2 separate regions of the Homo sapiens genome follow, and region 1 is linked to region 2. The links are contacts of gene promoters, found by promoter capture Hi-C in human tissues and cell types (Jung and others, 2019). All regions are on one chromosome and are shown on one strand. Each heading gives the region's core, a stretch centred on a gene start or on the middle of the fragment in contact. The rest is flanking DNA. Distances are from core to core; before and after follow the strand shown.

Region 1 (4,605 bases), core at 672-3,171, 280 kb after region 2:
GTGGTGTTTGCCTTTTCGTTCAAACCGTGCCTGGGATTGTGACTTCAGTTTGCATTTCCCTAATGACTAATGCAGCTGGGCATGTTAGTCATATGTTTATGGTTCATTTGTTTCTTGGCCTTTTGAATATCCTCTGAATCATTGAACTATTTCTAGTTTCCCTAATTTCCCTTCTAATTTAATATTATTCTGGGCTCCTTAGGGCTAGTAAGAAGAAATTAAGGGGCCTCCTTGCAGGGGCTCGTGGGCAAGAATCCATCTTTTGGGTTTCCTATGCCGGGATGTGTGGCTGTAGGAATGGCAATGTGAGAAGCTGTGGCCTGGGACAGGCATGGGCGTGCATTGCATCTGAGCGTCTCGGTGGGCACGTGGTGCCTTGGCCCCCTCTGCCCACAGCCTGACCGCCCACAGCTCTCCCTCGCTCCTTGGCCTGCCCTGACATCGTGTTTGAATCGTTCAGCTCCATTGCCCAGTGTCCATCCCAAGGCCCGGCATGGGAGAATGGGAGCGAGGGCTTTGCTCACGAGAAGCCTCTGCTGTGGTGTGGACTTAGATTCTCCCAATACGGGACTGGAGGGTGTTCCCAGGGCAGAGTGGAGTGTTGTACACAAGGGCATGTTGCAGGCTGAGGGACTGAGCAGTAAGGTCAGCCCTTAGGGGATGCTGCTTGGAGAAGGTGGTCAGTGTGGGCTTGAGGTAGCAGAGGAGCTGAGGTTGGAGTTTGTGAAGGAGATGGAAGAGCTTGGGGGAGGTCTCTGGGCAGCTCCCCAGGAGGACAATGTGTCCTTACTATAAGGGACTGGAGAGAGCTGGCTGGGGGAGCTGGGGACCGGGGAAAGGCCAGGGAAGGCGGTCGTGAGCAGGGCAGGCTGTGCCCAGCTGCCTCCGGGATGCTAGGCTAAGCCTGCCGCTGCTCATTCCACCTCGCGTCCATTGCCTGCAGTACATGTACTGGACGATGCTGCAGCAGCTCACTCACCACTCTGTCAACGGCTGCAACCTGCGGCCGGGGGACCTCCTGGCTTCTGGGACCATCAGCGGGCCGGTGAGTATCTGGCTGCACTGAGGGCTGCCCACGCAGAGCATCCCTGCTCCCCACACAGCCCCAAGGGCCCTCAGCTCAGCCTCGAGAAGAGATTTCAGGCCCGAGGTGGGTGTATCTCACAACTCTGTCTTCCTCGTAGCCTTTCTCTCTGGGTGCAGGAGGGACTTCTCATCCAAATTCAAACCTAAAGAGACTGGTGTGAGAACGGAAGCCTGGGTCTCTGCCTCTGTAGGGGAGCAGCGCAGTGACACGTGGGGAGGAGTCAGGAGACAGTGATAGTGTCTTGGTTGTCACCATCTCACACTACACCCTCCCAGGATGAGGTGGCCATGCTGCTGTGCCCCTTCCCACCCGCTTGTCCCCCTGTAAGCCTGCGGGAGTCACAGAACCTTCAGAGATGATGACCTTGGGGTGGTGCATGTGTCACTCACTTCCTGCAGGGGGCTGGCCGAGCCCTCTTGTTCCTTGAGCTGTCGACAGGAGGGTGTTAAGCATCACGATATCTGGGCAAACTGCAGCCTCCAGAGCAGGGAGGGGATGCTGCAGGGGGCACTGGGCACTCTGGTCAGGGATTCACTGATTCCTAAACAAGCGATGTCCTTAGTGGAACCATTGCTGTCCCCACAGGAAGAAGGGGCAGAGTTCCATGTCTCAAAGGCATCTCTGCAGTGATCCCACCAAGGCCGAGGCAGGGTCTCTGAGGGGCATGAGGGCCCCCTGCCACTTCTCGGGACTCCCAGGTCTTGCTGAGCATGGTCCATGCCAGAGCCAAGGCATAAATTCATGTTATTCTTTCTTCCCTTTCCTGTGATGAAGGAGCCAGAAAACTTCGGCTCCATGTTGGAACTGTCGTGGAAGGGAACGAAGCCCATAGACCTGGGGAATGGTCAGACCAGGAAGTTTCTGCTGGACGGGGATGAAGTCATCATAACAGGTGAGGGCTGCCAAACCCAGCAGCTCGTCTTCCTCCTTGCCCGCCATGCACTGTTCTAGCTGCGGGGCGCTCCTACCTGGCCATGAAGCCATCTGTTCTCACGCATCCTGACTCTGCCTCCCAGAGTCTCTGCCTGCTTGTTCTGTCCTTCCCCACAGCTATGGCTACCCGGGACTTCAAGTGTGAGTCTCCCTAGGCCAGAAAGACTGTAGACATTCTGCTTGGTCTCCCTTCTCCCTGAGCATAGTTATAAAATACTGGCAGGTTCCTCAAGGTCTAGACTTTGCAGCAAACGCCCTGTGCAGACACTTGGTGACCTATGACTAGGATCAAGGAAGGTTCAGCTGAGTTAGTGACTGAGGCTTCGCAGCAGCCTGTTCCAAGGAGGTGAGGGTGCCTCTTAATTCTTCTGGGGGTGCCATTCTGCCTACCACATTTTACTAATAGAGGGAAAGGGCACCATAATGGTTAGCAGCACACTCTTTAGAGCTGGAAAGGTTCAAGTTGAACTCCCAGGTCCCCCACCAGCTGTGTGACCTTCATTAAGTTATTTAGCCTTTCTGAGACTCAGTTTACCTCATCTTTAATTATTTTTTTTGTTTTTGAGTCGGAGTCTTGCTCTCTCATCCAATCTGGAGTGCAGTGGCACAATCTCAGCTCACTGCAACCTCCATCTCCCAGGTTCAAGCGATTCTCCTGTGCCTTAGCCTCCCGAGTAGCTGGGATTACAGGCGCGCTAATTGTGTATGTGTCAGTTTCCGTGCTTAACTAAAAGCTTGTGTTAGTTTCCTGTGGCTGCAGTAACATAGTACCGCAAACTTTGTGGCTTAAAACAACTGAAATGTATTCTCTCACAGCTCTATAAGGTACAAGTTCAAAATCCTCGTGTTGGCAGTGCCATGTTCCTGGAAACTCTGGGGAGCGTCTGTCCCTGGCCTCTTCCAGCTTCTGGTGGAAGCCTCTTTGTCTTGTGGCCACATCACACTGATCTCTGCCTCCACGGTCACATTGTCGCCTCGTCTTCTGTCTCATCTCCTTTACCTCTCTCTTATAACACACATGTGATAGCATTTAGAGCCCACCTAGACAATCTCCTCATTCTAAGATCCCAACTTAATCACATCTCCAGAAAATTTACTATATAAGGTAACATTCACAGGTCCTAGGGATTTGGCCGTAATTTAGTCCACTCCAGAGCTCTTGGAGAGCAAAGTTTAGTCCAAGTAGCAGCCACATAGTGCATGCCCAGTGTGGCTGTTGGTTAGTTCTTTGAATAAAGTGGATTTGGTAGAGAAGATGCAGGCAGAGCTCAAAACAGCAGATGATACCCATTATTAATCAATAAATACCCATTTTGCTCCCATTTCTGCAGCCTAATTATACCTCTCTAATTTGAATTTGACTATTTACTGAACATCTGCTAGGAGCCAACCATATTGCAGGCATGTCCACCTTCCTTATTTCATTTTCTACTCACAATAGCCCTTTGATGATATAATATCATTGCCCCCATTTTGCAGAGTCGAAAACTTAGGCTGATAGAAGGCAGGTTACTTGACAAAAGTCCCACAACTGGGGAAGCCAGTCTGCAACTGAGGTCTTCTGATTCCCCTGCCAAGTTTGTTTCTAGTCTTTCTGCAATGCTTGCCAGACCTACCGCAGGCCTTTGGTCACGGTTCTGTGGATTGAGTGAAAGCATTTTCTGAAGTTTTGATTTGGGGAAAGGAAGGAAAGAGATGGTGGCAGAAGAGAAAATGATGGCTTTAACTCTCTGTTGTCAGTGTGATAAGGGCCCCTGACTAAGCCATGCTAGACCAGGCAGCTGTCCAGGGCCTGGGAGAAAGGAGGCTGGTATCTAGCAGTTGGAATGCACATGTGTTCTTGACATTTGAGCCAGAGAAGGAAGGAGAAAGGAGCCAAGATGCCATGAGAGTCATTTCCATGTTTGTTTGTGTATACAACGCCTTACTCCGGAAGGATTTTTGGAGGCCAGCAGAGGAATTCAGGGAAAGGCAGTTCCTTGGATCTGAAGAAGCACATGTTGGCAAGTGAAGAGGGAAATGGGAACAGATGGGCAAAATCCCCTGGAACCAAGAAAGAAGAATTATAATTTGCTAAGAGGAGAGGCATACATTATGTGTTCATAAAAAGAAAAAAGAGAATTTCATACAGAAGGGGACCACTGAAAAACTCAAAAGAATGCATATTGCTAGAATTTGGGCTAAGCAGGGGGTAAGCAGAGGAGCGGGCAGGTGGAGGTGGTGTGTCAGCTGTGTTACCTTGTGCAAAGGTTCCCCGCATTGGCGGACGGCTCTGCCCTCACCTTCTACGACTTCACTGGTCACGTGGCCCTGCTGAGCTGCTTTCTTGCTTGAAAGCCACACATGGTTTCTTCAGCTCTTCCCGGCTTTCCTCCTCCTTCTCTGCACCTGCTCAGATGCCTTTATGGCTGCCTCTCATTTCCCTGCTTGCTCTTCACGGATGCTCCTTCCCCAAATCAATTTCTAACCATTGGAAACGCGATAGAACATTCAGAAGTGCTGGCATCAGCCAACGCCGCAGCACTTACTGCAGGCCAGACACTGTGCCAAGTGCTTTACCTGCAATACATTTTCTATTCCAAACA
Region 2 (4,627 bases), core at 690-3,189:
CCTACAAGAGTGATATTATCCATTTTATAGACAAGGAACCAAAGGTTCTGAGAGATTATGAGACCTGTCCAAGGATATACAGTTAAAAAACAATGGCGCCAGATTCAGCCCAGATCTGTGCAGTTCCAAAGCCCATGCTAAACTGTATCCTGTCATCTCTTGCCTAAATATCCCTACTCACACTCCCCTATCCCATCTTTCCCTTCACCTGAAAGAATTCATCTTGTTCTCCGAAATTCATCTCAAACATTTTCCAATAGAAAGCTTTCCAATTTCCCCTCCCCAAGGCTATGTTTCCACAACATTGGTGTTTACCTTTATCATATATCTGGCTTCAATGCAATTCTTTATTCATGTCTGTTTCCTCTTCTAGGCTCTCTGCTCCTTTAGAGCAACAATCATATCTTTTTCATCTCCACAACCCAGTATATAGCCAAGTGTGCACTACATAGGTGTTCAACATATGTGAATGAATTAGCTAAATTTTAAACAACTAGATAGTAAGGACAAGAGTCTATATCCTTTACATCTACTAAAACACCCAGCAATGCTTCCTCATAATAGCTAAAATAATTCTGTTTGAACGAACGAATTAACATCTGTATAGATTCCCTCATACACACCTACATAGATGAAGAGAGGGGTGAAATGAGCATATATGCTTTACTGCTTTAACCCATAGGCACCTTGAATTTGAGTAAATAACGGATAATAGAATAGTGAAGGGTAATTAAGAAAGCCTGATGGTATAACTAATTCCAAGGAACATCAAGTTTCCAAATATCTGGTGTCTCTGAAGCATGATGCTGGGAAGACAGATCATCAGTTTGACTTACAACAGAATTACAAATACGTACTTATTCAGGGGACATTAAATTTTTCTTCCTCTGGTGTCTAACAAAAATGAGTCCCCAAAAACTCTTTAGAACATGCCTTCACAACAGGATATGACTGCCATTTTATTGATAAGAAAACTGACATTACATAGACTAAAAATACATAGCAGTGCAGTTGGTGAAAGTAATGAAACAGAGGTCTGCTAACCAACAAACACGGACCCTCACTTATTCCTCTCATTTCTCTCTTCTGTTTCCTACGTTCTTGGGAAGCCTGGATATGATAGCCAAGTCTTCCTTTCGTTCACTCAAGAAAAAGCATTTAATGTTGACCAACTCTGAGACAGGAAAAGCCTAGGCCCTGGAGCTACTGAGACACAGCCTTAGCCCTCCATATGCTTAGTGAAGTCCAGTCAACCTCTGAGTTCTGCCCTTTGGCATCTCCACACCTTTTTTGGTGTTCCCTCGTCTAAAGCACCTGCATCTTTCTCTGGCCATTTTACTAATATAACCGGAGTCTTACTCGTAGCTCATTAACTTTAGGCCTCACTGAGGGAACCTGGGCACTCAGGTGTTCACCCATCTCCTCTACCACAACTTTCTGTTCTCACCGTGCTCTCACCACAGCACCGTCATCCCCACGGAGGGTTTTCGAGCACCAAAAGAGCCACCCATGCAAACAAACTCCCCTCCCAGAGATAAATCTGTCAACCCCTGCCGTCCTCTCGCTCTTTAGCCCCACAACTTTCACTACCGGGCCCTCTCCCCGCCATAGTGCCAAGAGCGTCCAGACCACGACTAGGGGGCGTGCGCGCGCCGGGAGGGGAAACGTGCGCGCGCCGGGGGGTGGGGGGGCGCCTAGCCCAGCGCCAGCACGGACCATGCACAGATCAGCAATCGCTGGCCGCCAGGCCTTCGGAGGGTCTGTCCGCCGCGGCTTCCGCTACGGGCGGCCTCGCACCTTCTGGCTCAGTACGCGGGACTGGCGTAGCCGCTCCTCGGCACTCATCGCCCGCAGACGCTGCTTCAGCTCTCCCCGCAGGCTCCGCTTGGCGCTGCTCACCGCTGCCGCCGCCATCTCACGCCCAAGCCGAGTCCAGTCCCGCCCTCGGCGCCCTGGGCGCCCTCGGGTTCGGTCTCCGCCCCTGGCCGCTCCCAGGTGGATCCGCGGCCTAGGGGCGGGTCGGGGCTCGGGGAAGCGCCCCCACCCCGCTTCCGGGACGCGGGCCCGCGGCGCGCCGCGCGCTTACCTCGCCTCTGGCCCTTGGGACCCAGCCCTCGTGCGGTCCCCGTGGTCCGGCTCGCCCTCCCCGGTTAGGGGAGCGGTGGCGAGGCGCCGTCGCTGCCCTGCCGCCTGACCTCCCTGAGCCTGGGCCCTCACCGGGACCGCGGAGGCGGCAGCGCCACTGGCGGGGATGGTAAAGATGGCCGGCAGTACCCACGGTGCCTGGCATCTCTTGTACTGTTCAGTAGTGGGACTTCAGGGGCCAGAAAAGAAGGGCAAGGCAGGACATGTAGCGAAATCGTCACGAGTCGCTTAACTACAGGGATAGGTCTGACAGATGCCCCGATTTCCTTCTTGTGCAAACATCAGAGTGTAGTTACACAAAGTTACTACACACCTATGCTACACACCTGTACAGCGTATTTTGTACCGAATACTGTAGGCAATTGTAAGCACCGTGATACTTGTGTATCTAAACACAGAAAAGGTAATGTGTTGGTTGGCTACCACATCAGTAGGTATTAGGAATTTTTCAGCTCCATTATAATCTTAAGGGACCACAGTGGTTGATGGAAATGTCCTTATGTGATGAATGTATAGATGATACATAATCGGGAACACTGCTAAAGCAATAACTGTAGTGTAAAAGCCAAATTTTGCGGGTTTCTAGTGTGAATGTATTCCAGGTAATAGTGCCCACATAGGTACTTCCTGTTATAACCATCAGTGACTGTTCATTCCCACCACTCAGCTCTGATTAAAACACAAAAATGAATTAAAACTAAAAGCAGTTGGGGGGTGGGTGAGGCACTTGCAGGAAGAGGTAAAAGAAACTGTTAAGTCTTAAACTGCTCCCAGTAGACAGGCGCCTCAGATGGCATAGACGGTTGCCTCTCAGATGTGACTTCCTAAGAAAACCAGAGCTGTCTCTGCCAAAAATACGTCCCTACTGACCGCCCCAGTGTCTTAATCCCCACCGTTAAGAATCACACCTCCTAGGTAAAGCATTAATTAAGTGCCCGGTGAGAATGCACATGGCTTGAGAGGGGAGTTCTGGCTTCTTTATGGAATCTATCAACAGCTTCCAGGGAAAGCTAATGCAAGTCCCAGGGGGACTGTGTTGTAAGAAAAAGGGAAGGCCAGGCAGGTACAGCGTATACATAGTGCAATTAGATTTGCTGACCTAAAAGTTAGAACACGAGGTCTAACAAACTACGTACTTTTCTAATCTGTTCATTTTTACCAAAAAATAAAAATTAAAATTAACACTAGCTCCACGTTGAATCATTTACCAATTTTCTTTGTTCAGAATATCCCAGAGTATCCTGCATATCAGGTTGCCATATCCATCAACCCCAAATGGCAAGCCAGAGAGAGAAGGCTGGGGAGGAGGCATCAATGGAAACTCTTAAGCAGCCAGGGGCACTGGAAACTGCAGAAAGCATGGGAAGGAAGGAGGGAAGAGGGAAGCCGACCTGAGTCTGCTTCTAGCCTGAGTCCGCTTCTCAGTCTAGTCTGCAGTCTAGCCTAGTGACACAGAAAAGGACTTTTGGGGTAATGGCACACCTTAAAAGTCTGCCTGGGGCAGAAAAGACACCGCCTTCCTGGTCATCATCCCATAATTAATTGCCTGGATCCTGTGTTGAGCTTTTACCCTTTGGCTGAATTTCCAGCCAGACTCCAAAACTGAAGACAAAAATGGCATATAGAGAAAAATACATACAATTTATTCATTAAATAGGGACAAAATTTCTGTAACTCTGGAAGGTCAAGTTACATCATCAAAGTTGTTTATTTAAAAGTAGAAGTATGTGTTGGCAATCGTTTTCGTAAGAGTCAGAAAAATTAGGCCGGTTTCACAATATGGAGTGTCCTTTCTGGTCAACAGTATTGCTTCAGGACAGAAGAGCATTTCACAGATCTTTCCTGTAACTTCTAGAAAAGTCATCCAGCCAGATTTAGGCTCAAGCTTCTTTACAAAGCCATTTTCCTATGAGAGAATAAATTTAACATTTTAAAAATCATTGGAGATTAAGTATGCTGGAATAAAAAGCAAAAATATTTTCATTTAAATAATGCAAATAATCTTCTATCCCTCTAAAGGAGCATTGTGTAACAGAAACACAGTGTGGCCTACATCTGTAATTTTAATTTTTGGTAGCCACATTTTAAAAAGTACAAAAATAGGAAAAATTAATTTTTAAGATATATTTAGTGATAATGATTTCTGTATGTAATCAATGTCAAATCACTAATGAGATAGTTTTTTTCATAACAAACCTTCAAAATCTCATGAGTATTTAGTACTTACAGCGTATCTTAATTCAGACTAGCCACATTTTACTACCATAGTGAACAGCAAGCACAGCTCTAGAGGATAAAAAGTCTTTTTGTTCTTGTTCTTGTTTAATTGTCCAACATTGATTTCAATGCACTTATATTTGTAATATGAATTCTATTATACTGTAAACTGCATTGTATTGAAACTCATGAGAACTCACAGTAAATCCAAATTAAACCAATACCTTTGAAGCTATGAAAAGGTTGATGGTTTCTTTTATAATCT

What was found. The method cuts DNA at HindIII sites, captures the fragments that hold promoters and counts their contacts. A contact is called where the count stands out against the background at its distance.
Region 1: a fragment that was not itself captured here is called in contact with the fragment with the promoter of MTHFS in region 2 in 3 of the 25 tissues and cell types used here (H1 embryonic stem cells, lymphoblastoid cells and thymus).

What each region holds. Positions count from the first base shown.
Region 1 is chr15:80,179,181-80,183,785 of GRCh38, forward strand. It overlaps FAH (fumarylacetoacetate hydrolase), which reads left to right. Exons shown (of 14, transcript NM_000137.4): 12 at 944-1,045; 13 at 1,862-1,979. Among named protein-coding and RNA genes, the nearest start is that of FAH, 28 kb to the left of the region's middle. The HindIII fragment of the contact is 7,164 bases long and covers 1-4,605 here.
Region 2 is chr15:79,895,075-79,899,701 of GRCh38, forward strand. It overlaps MTHFS (methenyltetrahydrofolate synthetase), which reads right to left and starts at 1,940. Exons shown (of 3, transcript NM_006441.4): 1 at 1,798-1,940. The coding sequence starts at 1,914. The region is part of intron 2 of ST20-MTHFS (ST20-MTHFS readthrough); the gene reads right to left. ST20 (suppressor of tumorigenicity 20) reads right to left here. Exons shown (of 3, transcript NR_037653.2): 3 at 3,768-4,051. RefSeq lists a silencer at 1,949-2,248 and an enhancer at 2,389-2,438. The HindIII fragment of the contact is 7,261 bases long and covers 1-4,627 here.